Regions from separate parts of the Homo sapiens genome. Here all the other regions are linked to region 2. The links are contacts of gene promoters, found by promoter capture Hi-C in blood cells and fetal thymus (Javierre and others, 2016). All regions are on one chromosome and are shown on one strand. Each heading gives the region's core, a stretch centred on a gene start or on the middle of the fragment in contact. The rest is flanking DNA. Distances are from core to core; before and after follow the strand shown. Region 1 overlaps FXYD6-FXYD2 (FXYD6-FXYD2 readthrough). Region 2 holds the start of IL10RA (interleukin 10 receptor subunit alpha). Region 3 overlaps DSCAML1 (DS cell adhesion molecule like 1).

Region 1 (4,243 bases), core at 102-2,601, 140 kb after region 2:
AACCTATAGGTAAAGGACTTTCAAGTCTGATGAAACTCACGACAATCAGTTCTATGTTGTGTTTCAGACTTGTGATGAAACCCACAACAGCAAACACAAAAAGAAGAAAATAAAAGGAGGCAGAGAAGAAAGATAGGACATCTATAAAGGAATGATGATATAAGCAGCAGACTTCTCAACAGCAATCATGGAAGCCAGATAGCAGTGGAATAACATCTTAAAAGTGCAGAGCAAAAATAATTATCAGCCTAGAATTGTGTACATAGCCAAACTACCTTTCAAGGTTAGGATTGTATTAGTTTTCTATTGCTGCATAACAAACGATCACAGACCCAGCAGCTTAAAGCAACACATGTTTATTATGTAATGGTTTCTTTAGGTCAGAGGTCTGGCACAGCTTAGCTGAATTTTCTGCTTCAGCATCATACCGAACTACAGTCTAGGTGCTGGCTAAGGTTGTGGTCTGATAAGAGAATTGACTGGGGAAAGATCTGCCTCCAGACTCCCTCAGGTTGCTGGCAGTATTCATCTCCTTGTGGTAGAAGAACTGAGGTTCCCATCTTCTTGCTGGCTTCTGGCCAGGGGCAGCTGTCAGCTGCTAGAGGCTTCCCACAATTCCTTATCCTGTGCTTCTCTCCGTAGCCTGTCTCATGACATAGCAGCTTGCTTTTTCAAGCCAGCAAGGGAGAAAATTCTCGAGCTCCAGCCTGCAAGATTGAGTCTTATATGATATAACACCATCATCTGAGAGCTGTCCTTTTGCCACTTTTGCCACATTCTGTTGGTTAAAAGTGTGTTGCAGCTCCTGCCAGTATTCAAAGGAAAGAGATTACTCAAAGCATTGAACACTAGAAGGCTGGAATGACTGGGGATCGCCGTAGGGTCTCTTGCCATAAAGGTGAAATGAAAACATTTCCAAATAAACAGAAACAGAGTTTCTAACGAACAGATCTTCATTAAAGAAAATTTTGAAAGATGTTCTTTAGGAATAAAGAAAATGGCATGAAGGATGACTAACGTTCAAAAACAATGGTGAACAAATCAGTACATATGTTGTAAATTCATTATCTATTGCTGCATAGCAAATTACTTCCAAACTCAGCAGCCTAAAACAGCAAACGTTTGATATTTCACACAGTTTCTGAGGGTATGGAATCAGGGAGAATCTTCAGTGGGTGGTTCTGGCTCAAGGTCTTTCATGAAGCCGGAAGATCTGTTTCCAAGCTCACTTATGTGGTTCATGGCAGGCTGTATTTCTTAGCAGGCTTTTGGAGTGAGGCCACCACATGGGCCTCTCCACAGGGGTGCCTGAATATCCTTAAGACATGGCAGCTAGCTTGACTCAGAACAAGCAATCCGAGAGGGAGGGAGAGAGAGAGAGAGCACACAAGAGGCTGTGTTGCTTTTTATAACCTCATATCGAAAGTGACATACCATTACTTCTGCCATATTTTCCTGGTCATACAGACCAACCCTGGTGCAGTGTGGGAGGGGACTGTACAAGGATCTGAATACTAGGAGATACTGGGAGCTGTCTTGCAGGCTGGCTACTACACACATGGGTGAATCCAAACAAACATAGTTTTCATGAAGTACGAATATTAGTATCTATTTTATAGAATTTTAAAAAGAACTGAAATATTCTCCAATAATAGCATATGTATCAGGAAGGGGATGATTTGTATTTTTGTATTTTCAAGGAGGGTATTCTGCCTAATAACTATTATAAGTATTAACTCTGAATTTTTTTGGTCTTTTTTACATTGAATACACATGGAAAAATTACAAAGATGACCACTAAAAGATTAAAATAGTTTCTATAATTTCTAAACCAGTAGAGGGAGAAAAGGAATAAGAAAAAAAAAAATCACTAAGCTAGGGGCAGTGGCTCATGCCTATAATCCCAGCACTTTGGGAGGCCAAGGCAGGCAGATCACCTGAGCCCAGGAGTTCGAGACCAGCCTACGTAACATAGTGAGACCGCCCCCCAAAAAAATAAAAATAAAAATAACTAATCCAGAAAAAAGAAAGGGCAAGGAAAGAAAAAGAAACAAGCACATTCCCATAGGGAAAAAACAGATGGCAGAAAGCAGACCAACTACATCAATAGTCACAATAAGTAAATTAAATGGGGTAAATTTGACAATTAATACAGAAAGCCTGACAATACAGAATTTTTCAAAAATCCATCTCTTTGCTGTTTATAAGATGCACACACAACACATAAGGACACAGAAAGGTAGAGAGTAACATAGAATTTAAGACAGGGAGGATCACTACATAATTCTAAAAGACCCAACTCAGAGGACAGTAACAGTTTTAAACTATCTGTTAGAATATTCTAAGAGACATGTTATCGGCCAGCTTCAGGTCTGTTCTGCCCACACTCAGTAAATCTCAGTAAATCAATCACTGTGACACAGATTTTGCAAAAGAGAAAAGATTTATTCAGAAGACCACCAAGCAAGGAGGCCGGAGAACGGCTCTCAAATCCGCCTCCCCAAAGATAAGGCTTAGGGATATTTACTGTTAAGGGAAGTGGGGTGGTCTGAGGCATAGGGAAAGGTGATTGGCAGTGGGGAGAAATGAAATGGCAGATTCATTCTGAGCAAGCGTAGTCAGGGTTTGTGGCATTCCACAGGACATATGTACAGGAAATGGTGGCATTAGTGTGACCTGAGGGTGGAGTTTTTAGCCCTCTGATGTCAAAGGCTACCCTTCGGAGCACTTGCACATGCCCAGTTGAAGGGTGGGTGGTCTCATCCTGTTTGAACTGGACAGGAGCTAGCCCAAATTCCTGAAAAACAACTGAAGTAACCATTACCAGGGTGACCTATGAATGTTATCTGTAAAGTAACCAGTGAAGGTTAAGTTTCAGCATGCAGTGGCGAGGCCTTCAGCTACCGAGGCCTTCAGCTACCACGGCCTTCAGCTTCATGGAAAAAGGAAAAAAAATAAAATATAATAACAAAAAGCAAGCGACCAAAAGCAAGCAGTGCAGGCAGACCTGATCAGATTAACCCCTCTGTTTCAAATATGGGGATACATTTATAAATCCTTCCACTTAGTGGTAGATTTTAAAGTGCTGATCTTGATTTTTGGTAGGATAAACAGTCAAAAAAAAAAAAAGAAATTTAAACACAGTTGATAATGTTAATTTATAGGCATATAGAACTTTCTTCCCAACCATGAAGGAATTCACAATTTTCCAAGCACATATGAAATATAATTCTTTTAATAACTGACCATGTACTAGGTCATAAAGCAAGTCTCAACACGTTTCAAGGCATCTGTACATCATACAGACCATGTTTTGTGACCTTGGTGCACTTAAGTTAGAAGTCAATAACAAAAGCAAATAAAAATCACTATATATTTGGATATTTAAAACACACACTTCTTAATGCATAGGTAAAGCAAGAAATTGTAAGGAGGTTTAAAGTATACTGAGAACTAAACAACAATCCAACTATGATGGAGTACTTTCACCCCCTTACAGAAGCTTTGAAGTGTGGTTATTGATTATTGTTTAGTTCTTAGTATTATACTTTAAAAGCACTTAGAGGGAACATTGCAGTCTTAAATGCTTATATTGGAAAATAAGAAAAGCTAAATATTAATGAACTAGGTATCCAACATAACAAGATAAACATAAAAAAGAACAATAGAAGAAACCCAGAGATTGTTTAAGGGCAGAATTAAGAAAATTTTAAAACATACAATAAAAAGGATTAATGAAACCAAGAGTTGGTTTCTTCAAAAAAACTATAAGCATCGTTAAACCTCTGGTGAAACTGACCAAGAAGAAAGGGAGTTGTCACAAGTAACATTAGGAATGAAAAAAACAGGCATAACTTTATGGCAAAACATTTGAAAGCAGAAAAGGGAAAATTCCTTTAAAAATTATAACTCACTAAATTTATTAAAGAAGAAATAGATATCTGGAGAGTGCCATAACCATTAATTAATTGAATGGGCCATTTAAGATCTTCCCACAAAGAAAGTCCCAAGCCCGGATGATTTTACAGGTTAGTTCCACCAAACACTCAAAGAACAGATAATTCGAATCTTCTGCAAACTCTTCCAGGGAGCTAGCAGGAGAGTGGACACTTGTTCTGTGAGGCCAGTACTGCCATCCCCAAACCAGGCAAGGTTAATACAATAAAATAAAAACTGCAGACCAATCTCACTCATGCACATAGATGCAAAAATCCTAAACAAAATGTCAGTAAGCCAAATCCAT
Region 2 (4,092 bases), core at 293-2,792:
CAGACAGCCTGCTTGCTGACATCTGCCTCCTTCTCTTCATAGGTCTCCTGGGCTCCCCAAGCTAAGTGCTTGCCTCATTCCCTAGTTTCTGGGAGGGCTTTGCCTATAGCCAGATGTCCAACCTCTGGCTGGGCAAGGACAGATGGAATAAATCAGCTCTGGCTCTACACATGGCTGAGGACATCCCCACAAGAGCTGGCACCTGTAGCTCCGAGGAGAGATACTCAATACCAATTCCTAGCTCTACTCTCCCTTTACCCCCAGTACACACCATTCACCATGGGAAACACTGCTGAAGGCATTGTCTTCTTTGTAAGAATGCAACAAACATTTCTACTTTAAGAGTCTTGTTGATCAAGCAGACTGAAGTATGTGCAAGGCCAACGGCTGGTTGGTTCCCTTTCTCTCCTCCTTGATCCTCTAAGTTCTCTCCATTTGACAGCGACTCTGCTCCCGCTCCCTAGTGTTCTAACTTCTCTACATCTCTCTAATCATGCACCTGTTTTTTATTTATTTTTTGGGGGGGAGGACTCTGTCATCTGTCTCTTGCTTTCTTTCTTATACCGTCTTTGATCTTCACGTCAGTGCCTTGATTTCGAAACATTAGACGGAAAGTGAAAAATGCAGCGAGTCGTTGTGGTATTTGGGCTGCACATCTCCGACTCAGCTCTCGATCACGTGAATGGCTGACTGCATGTTTTACTTTGTATTTTGGTGTCATGAAGAAGCAGTTTCGGTCCTTGCTCTCTGTCTCTGCTCTTGGTCCTTCCAACTCCCGGCTCTTTCATTCTGTCTCTGGGGTTTACTTTTCTTAGTTGCAGAAACCTTGCCGGAGAACTGTCTGGGTTAGGAGCCTGAACTGGGTTAGAAGCCTGAACTGGCTGGGTTAGGAGGAGAGAGGCAGGGGGCAGTGGGAGTGAGTTGGGGGCTACAGGTGGAGCAAGGGGGATCAGATCGGGGTGATCAGTGAGGGATGAAGGTGAGATGGGAGAAGGACAGACAGAGGTTAGTTGAAGAGTCGACTAAGAGAAGGGAGAGTCAGGAGATCAAAATTATTCCCCAAGGGGACAAGAAGTCCCATCATTTGAACCTAAACAGCAAAAAACCTAGAGCTAAACTTACGGCTCATCTAGAAGTGGGTGGATGATGAGGTTTGCGGGTTGGGGGTTTGGCCTTGCGCATACTTCTCTATCCTTCCCAATCCGTCAGTTCCTGTCAATTTCAGCCTCTTCCACTTCCACAACAGGTGAGCCTGAGATCCAGGTTTGCCAGAGTAAGGGAGCACCCGGGCACCGCTCTGCCAGAGGGCCAGCCAGCCAGGGCTCTCCACTGGATGGAGAACTTTAATGGAGCGGGCGCGGAGAGGGCAGGGCAGGGAAGGGCCGCGTCCCGGAGCCTTACCATGAGCGTCTGAGCCAAGACGGAGGCTGAGGAGCGCCGCCAGCAGCACTACGAGGCACGGCAGCATCCTGGGCGCGCCGCATCGTCCGGGGCCGGAGCGGAGCCGGCCTGCGCGCCTCCAGCTACCCTTGGGCTGGGACTGACAGCTCCGCCGCCCGCTCCGCCAGCGCCCCGCAGGGCTGACGTCAGCGGGGCGAGGCCTACAGACGCCCCGCCCCCGAGGCCGCGGACGGGGAACCACTGTCCCACAGGGCTACCGCCTGGGGCAACCCGAGGCTGTCCTGGGGCGCTAGCGGGCTCCGGCCACCCCTCCCTTTCCTTCCCTCTGGGCCTCCAGTGCCTTCGGATCAAAGTGGTCCGGGTAGCCCGGCCGGCCGTGGGTACGTGTGTGTGGGTGTGTGCGCGCGCGCGTGTGTGCATGTGCTGGGAAGCAGGTGGCCAGGCACAGCCTCGGCCCTGAGTGCGGAAGGTGGGGTGAGGGCGTCCGAGCCGCTTTTGCCTGGCGTGCCGGCTTGGCGTTAAGGATGTGGCCGCGGCCGCTCCGAATGGGGAGGAGGTAGTTGCAGGCCCTTGAGGGCAAAGGCGCCAGGACGCCGGTGTGAGTCTTGGCGTTGCCCCAGGGCCTCCCCGTCTGGGGGTCTGAGGACACCGATGGATGAATACTGAGTAGTCCCCTACCTAATTGTTGGAGGGGGGTCCACAACTAAGCAGTTTATGCAGACCTGCCCCCAAAGTCCCAGGAAGCTGAGAGACCCAAGAAAGAGGCTTTTAACCAGCAGCTCAGCAGCTGAGCCTCAAACCGCGATTTTTAAAATTTTTTTATCTATTTTTTTTTTTTACAGTCTCGCTCTGTCGCCCAAGCTGGAATGCAGTGGCGTGATCTCGGATCACTGCAACCTTCGTCTCCCAGGTTCAAGCGATTCTCCTGCCTCAGCCTTCCGAGTAGCTGGCATTACAGGCATGTGCCACCACGCCTGGGCTAATTTTTGTATTTTTAGTAGAGACGGGGTTTCACCATGTTGGCCAGGCTGGTCTCGAACTCCTGACCTCAGGTGATCCACCCGCCTCAGCCTCCCAAAGTGCTGGGATTACAGGGGTGAGCCACCGCGCCCAGCCTTAAACCGTGTTTTAAACTTAGTTTCTCTTCTTTCCTTTTTTCTCTTCCTCCTCTGGGCCTCAAGATATAATTTTGAGACAAACTGCATGTATGTTACCTCTCATCTTAAAACACAGCCTCAGGACGTGCTGTGACCTCCACTCCCTTTCCTGTCCCATACTGTACTCCCATGCCTTACGCACGTTTATTTACCTACGTGCTTGTTAAGCACACGCTATGCTCTTACCTGGTCATATATTTCCTTAGATGCCTCAGGAGCTGCGTCCTGATAGGGACCAGGCACCTCCGGAATTCTCTCTCCAACAAAAGCTTACTTCAGGAGTTGAACATATACCCTGCTGAAGAGTAACTAATTTATAACCTGGCAGGATCCACGATTGCACCAGCCCCTCCACCAAATAAGACGATAATTAAAGAGGACCACTGGAGCAAGTCACACCACCTGGTACCTCCTAACCTCCCCCTTGCCTTTTCTGCATTTCAGATCCTTTCTTAAAAAACCCCTGCGTTCCCCCCATGAATTGAAGAGTGGAATTGTTTGCTGCTCTTCCCCTGCTAGCATGGCAGCTAGCAGATTTTCCTTTATTATCCATTCTTTCTACAAGCAGAGAGCAGCCAGATCCTTTTGCAGGTTACAGGCTGACACATCCAGTTTCTTCGAAAAAAACATTTAATAAGGACTTATAAACAGAAGCTACGTTTGTGTCTCCATGATTCACCCCCAGGACCAGGGCTTATAGACCACAGGGGAAGGGTGATTCAGAAAAGATGTGTAGGACAGTTGAAGTATGATAACATCAAGGTTGTTTGACCTAAGGGCCGGATTTACAGTAAGTGTTTGCACTTACACAAGGAGCAATTGATAAATTGGGAATCTCAGAGGTCTTCTGGGAGGCTCCAAAGCCAACACGGCCAAAACTGTGGATTAGCATCCAACATGGAGTTGCTTTAGCCTCCATAAGGACTTCTCCCAGTCTCTTCTGGGTTTCCCTTGCTTGCTTGAAATCTGATATTCAGACCAATTTTTGTGTTGGGTAATAGCACTACTGGAGTGCTGGGTAACACCTCAGCACATCCTCAGTCTCTCGCACCTCTGTGTCACTTGGCTCATCTGAGGCCATCTCCAGGTGAACCAAATATGTGAGGATATGAGAGACAGACTGTCCATCACTTTTTCTTGGAGGCTGACACCTGCTTCAAAGTGTGTGTGTGTGTGTGTGTGTGTGTGTGTGTGTGTGTGTGCACTTGCAGTCATATATGATTTGCAGTGGCCAGTCTGTGGATTTGGATTTCATTGTGGTGTGGAGAACGTTGTCTGTTTGCCAAGTGCATATGTGTGTTTGGGACTGTGTGTGCATCCCTCAAGCCCTGCCCTTGTTCTCAGACAAACCAAAGAAGAGGGGCTCAGGACATTTCTGGCCAGCAAGGCCCCACTCCAGGCCTGCTGCCCCACCCACCCGGCCATACCCCGCCCTGCCTGTATTGTAGTTTGTACCTTCATTTGTTCCTGAGCTCTTGTCCTGTGTTCAAGAAGAATGAGAATTCGCTGACAGTTGAAGGGTGAGGATGGGCAG
Region 3 (4,076 bases), core at 914-3,413, 200 kb after region 2:
AGTAGAATGAAAAATAAGAAAGGTTGCAACCCACTGGTGTGGTAGAAATTTGGAGTCAAGGCAAATCTTTCATTCACATCCTGGCTCTGCACTTACTGGCCATGTGACTTTGGGCCTCTCTGAGCCCCACTTTCTCCAGCTATGAAATGAGATTAAAGAAGATAATGCATATCAAGTAGCCAGAACATAGTTAGTGCTCAATAAACATTAGACCTCTACTTTTTCCTCTGCATTGCCTCTACCTTCCTCTCCCTGCCCCCTCTCCAGAATGCATCATCAGATCCTTCCCTAAGCAGTTGAATTAATCAGCCACATTTTTGGCCAAGCCAGTTGGCTTAGACTTTATAACAATAAGAAAGACAGAGTAGTGGCCAGGACAGGGGACGTCAACTCCTTCCATCCGTCACCTAGCTGGATAGCATGTAGGACTCCACATGGCTGAGGCCATGTGGTCACCTGAGTGTCCCTGGGGTGCCCAGCACACTTCCTTCCCCTGGCCATCAGTGGAAATGAAGAGGGCTGAAGTTGGCTCCAGACTTGGATTTGAGGTGAGGCAAAGGTTGGTCTCATATCTGCCAAAGGAAGGCTGGGGTTGGTTGTTAAATCTCTACCACGGTTGGCCAGAGTAAGAACTATTCTGGAGTTCATGCCATAAAGCCTGCGTAAGCACTCCTCACAAAGCGAGGGAGCCCTCATAACTGTTGCTGGATGTATTTCTGTGTCTCTCCCTGCTGAGATGAACCTCTATTTTTCAGGCAGTTTTGCATATAGAGAACACTCTTGGCAGCCTGTGACCTTGGGACTGCTCTTCCTTCCATGACCTAGTCTGTCACAGGGAAGCAGCATGTAACCCAGAGGTCAAGTGCTGCCTATGGCAGGCCATGGCCTGTGGGATCCTACATGTTGGGGAGGCTGTGGGCTCCACAGCCTGTGTGCCTTGTTAAACAGATGTTTGTCCTGTGCTGCTTTAGAGTGAACAGCATTAGCCTTGGGGACCACCCATGCCACTCCAGCTGCTACTCCCCTCATTCGTTCAGCTGCCCTGCCCCACTCCCTGTGCCCTGTCTCTACATGATGCTTGCACTAACAGTTTCCAAGGTCACCATCTTCATTAACAACAATTATTCAAATGCTAGTTAGTTGCATATCCATTAAACTGATTCTAAAGAGATGCATGTGTGTTTGCACGTGCATGTGTGTATGTGTGTCTGTGTGTTGGAAAGAACATTATCCATGGACCTAAAAAACAAAGCTCAGCCTGTCTTACCTGGGCAAGTTGCCTAATGGTTCATGTGCCTTTATTTCGTAATCTGTAAAATGGGCAAAATTACCCCCGTCCTGGCTATCCTACAGAGCAGTTGTTACTGTATATGTGCATAAATAAGAATAAGAGGCATAAAAATGTACATCATGTGACAGTGCTTTGTATACAGAATGAGGCAACATATGAACACACACATGTAAAAACCACAGCAAACCCGTTTTAGCCTTATAAATGCTCTGCTGAAATGTGAGGCATAATTACTGTCATTTCATCATACAGGAACGATGAAGGTCTCACAGCTGTTTGTGGCTGTCTCCCCCTCCGTGGGCCCCAACATATGGAGAATTTTCCTAGCTTTGCTTTTCAGCATCATGGGGAACAGCTGATGAGGCACAGCCAGGCTGGCAATAGTCTTCCTGGAGCAAACTTGGCAGATCCCTTGAGGCCCCAGTGGTAGTGGGAGTGGGAGGAAGCCTACCTCTTCTCCCTCCTCCCATTCCCCTCCAAGGTTCTTAGATGCAAGTGTAGTCCATAGTCCTCTGGACCAACTCCCCCAAAGGGACATTCTCCCTGCAGGGAATCCACAGTCTTTTGTGGGAAGAGCAGTAGGCACAGTCCCATCTTATGTGACCTCATTTAAGGTCACAGTATTCACTGGAATCTCTGAAAACTCTGCCGAGTCGAGACTGGTGGACACCCTGCTACTAGGGTGACCCTCCCGCAGTCGTGGGGTATGAGAGAGGATAGGACCCCTGCGTTGGGGGTGGGAGAGGGAGATTCAGGTGATCACCTTGGGTAAAAGTCTTGCAGGGTTGGAAGGCATCTTTAAGGCTGTGGAATCTGTCCCCTAATCAGAGGCTGACTCCCTCTGCAGCTTTCCCACCCAGTGTCTTTTTCTGTCTTCACTAGCACTTCCTGCAACAGGGACTCCTTCCTTGCAAGGCAGCCCATTCCTGGCCACACAGCTCTGACTATTACAGAGCTCATCCTTAGAATGAGTCAAACCCTGTTGTGGTCTTGGACCTTCTACTCACTGGTCCTGATGTCACCGCTTGGACCACATAGAGCAAGGCAAAGCCCTCTTCCACTTGACAGCCCTGCGACTGTGATAGGCAGATGTCCTGCCCATCTGAGGCCCCTGCTCTGGACACGCAGCATCCCTAGTTGCTCTGATACACCCTCGAATGACATCGTTTCGGTGCTTCATGGTGCTCCTGAGTTCCACAATGGCTAGTTTTCTGACAGCAGGGTGGCCAGAACTGAGAGAACACTGGAGACAGCACTGTAGCCCCAGCTGGGATGCTGGTGAGCTGTGTCCCTGGGGTAGATGACTCCACCTCTCTAGGCCTTGTGAATGGAGGAGATTGGAAAAAATAATCTCTTAAGTCCCTCAAGCATTAACAATCTAAATCTAGGATTCTCTGGGGACAACTGTGCTGTCTGAGCTGACTCCCTGGAAAGAAATTTTGGCCATAAGGGACCTTCCTTTGACAGGCCCTGTCTAGAAAGGGCTGGAAGATTAAAGAGTCTGTCCGACAGTCAGCTGTTGCTCATAACTTCTCCTGGAGCTGATGGCACAGGGCCTTGGAGGTTGAAGGATAGCTGCGTCTCCACTGGACCTCGCAGGTTTCTGGTTGCTGGTCACAGAAACCATGTTTGTGCTAAGAATCTTAAAAACAAACAGCAAAACCACCCATGTTTCTGATGGACACAGGGAGGACACTTGAGCTGTGCTTTGCATGGGGATTGGAAATGGGGAGCGTTTTTTGGTCATCTCAATGACTAGGGTGGGGAGCTGCTGGCGTTTAGTTGGGGGAGGGATGGAATGTCTAATGACAGGGAGATTCCCAGGTAATTCTGAATTATCATACCCCAATTGATCTCTTTTGTCAGAAAATCCCCCCACAGTGTGCTCACACCATGGGGATGGTCTGAATCTAGCCTGTCATGTGCCTGCTGAGCCACACATCCTGGCATAAAGATGTGAAATGCAGCTCTGCCACTGCGAACTGTGCAACACCAAGAAATTATTTGACCTAAGAGCCTGTCTTCTTATCTGTAAAATGGAGTCTTGAGTAGTAGCTACATCCAAGGGCTGTTGTAAGAATTACATGTGCAATAATGCAAGAAAAAGGCTTCCCACCATGCCTGGCACAAAACAAATGCTACAAAGAAATGATGGGGCTGGGCATGGTGGCTCATGCCTGTAATCCCAGCAGTTTGGGAGGCCGAGGCAGGCGGATCACTTGAGGTCAGGAGTTCGAGACCAGCTTGGCCAACATGGCGAAACCCCATCTCTACTAAAAATACAAAAATTAGCCAGGCGTGGTGGTGCACGCCTGTAATCCCAGCTACTCAGGAGACTGAGGCAGGAGAATCGCTCAAACCTGGGAGGTGGAGGTTGCAGTGAGCCAAGATGGTGCCACTGCACTCCAGCCTGGGTGACAGAGCCAGACTCCGTCTCAAAACAACAACAACAACAACAAAAACAAAAACAAAACAACAACAACAAAACAAACCAAAAAAACCAAAAGATGGCACTGTGATGGGGAAGGTAGTGGTGGAGCAGGTGTGCCAGATTGGGTGGACATCACAGGCAGAGAGCATGGGACTTGGCCCGCTGCTTCCTCTTGTCCAAGGACCATACCAGCTCAGGCTGCCTGGTACATGCTCTGATGCTGTCTGGGAAACTCAACCCTCTCCTTGCCAGTGTCTGGGCTCAGACAGTTTCCAAGATGCAACATAAAGGGTTTTTAGTGAAGCAGCAAGACACCGTCTGGCTGGTCCTCCTCTGGGTTTTGAATGGACTTGG

The links. The method cuts DNA at HindIII sites, captures the fragments that hold promoters and counts their contacts. A CHiCAGO score of 5 or more calls a contact.
Region 1: a contact is called between a fragment that was not itself captured here and the fragment with the promoter of IL10RA in region 2, in 7 of 17 cell types (non-activated CD4 T cells, naive CD8 T cells, naive CD4 T cells and 4 more). The highest score is 8.5, in non-activated CD4 T cells.
Region 3: a fragment that was not itself captured here is called in contact with the fragment with the promoter of IL10RA in region 2 in 1 of 17 cell types (endothelial precursors); the score reaches 5.0 in endothelial precursors.

The regions. Positions count from the first base shown.
Region 1 is chr11:117,848,423-117,852,665 of GRCh38, reverse strand. All of the region lies in intron 1 of FXYD6-FXYD2 (FXYD6-FXYD2 readthrough), which reads left to right. The region is part of intron 1 of FXYD6 (FXYD domain containing ion transport regulator 6); the gene reads left to right. Among named protein-coding and RNA genes, the nearest start is that of FXYD6-AS1, 17 kb to the right of the region's middle. The HindIII fragment of the contact is 4,307 bases long and covers 1-3,504 here.
Region 2 is chr11:117,983,844-117,987,935 of GRCh38, reverse strand. It overlaps IL10RA (interleukin 10 receptor subunit alpha), which reads right to left and starts at 1,542. Exons shown (of 7, transcript NM_001558.4): 1 at 1,402-1,542. The coding sequence starts at 1,468. RefSeq lists enhancers at 365-664, 2,055-2,114 and silencers at 1,465-1,744, 1,765-1,864. The HindIII fragment of the contact is 8,039 bases long and covers 1-2,829 here.
Region 3 is chr11:117,787,997-117,792,072 of GRCh38, reverse strand. The region is part of intron 1 of DSCAML1 (DS cell adhesion molecule like 1); the gene reads left to right. Among named protein-coding and RNA genes, the nearest start is that of DSCAML1, 7.2 kb to the left of the region's middle. The HindIII fragment of the contact is 8,640 bases long and covers 1-4,076 here.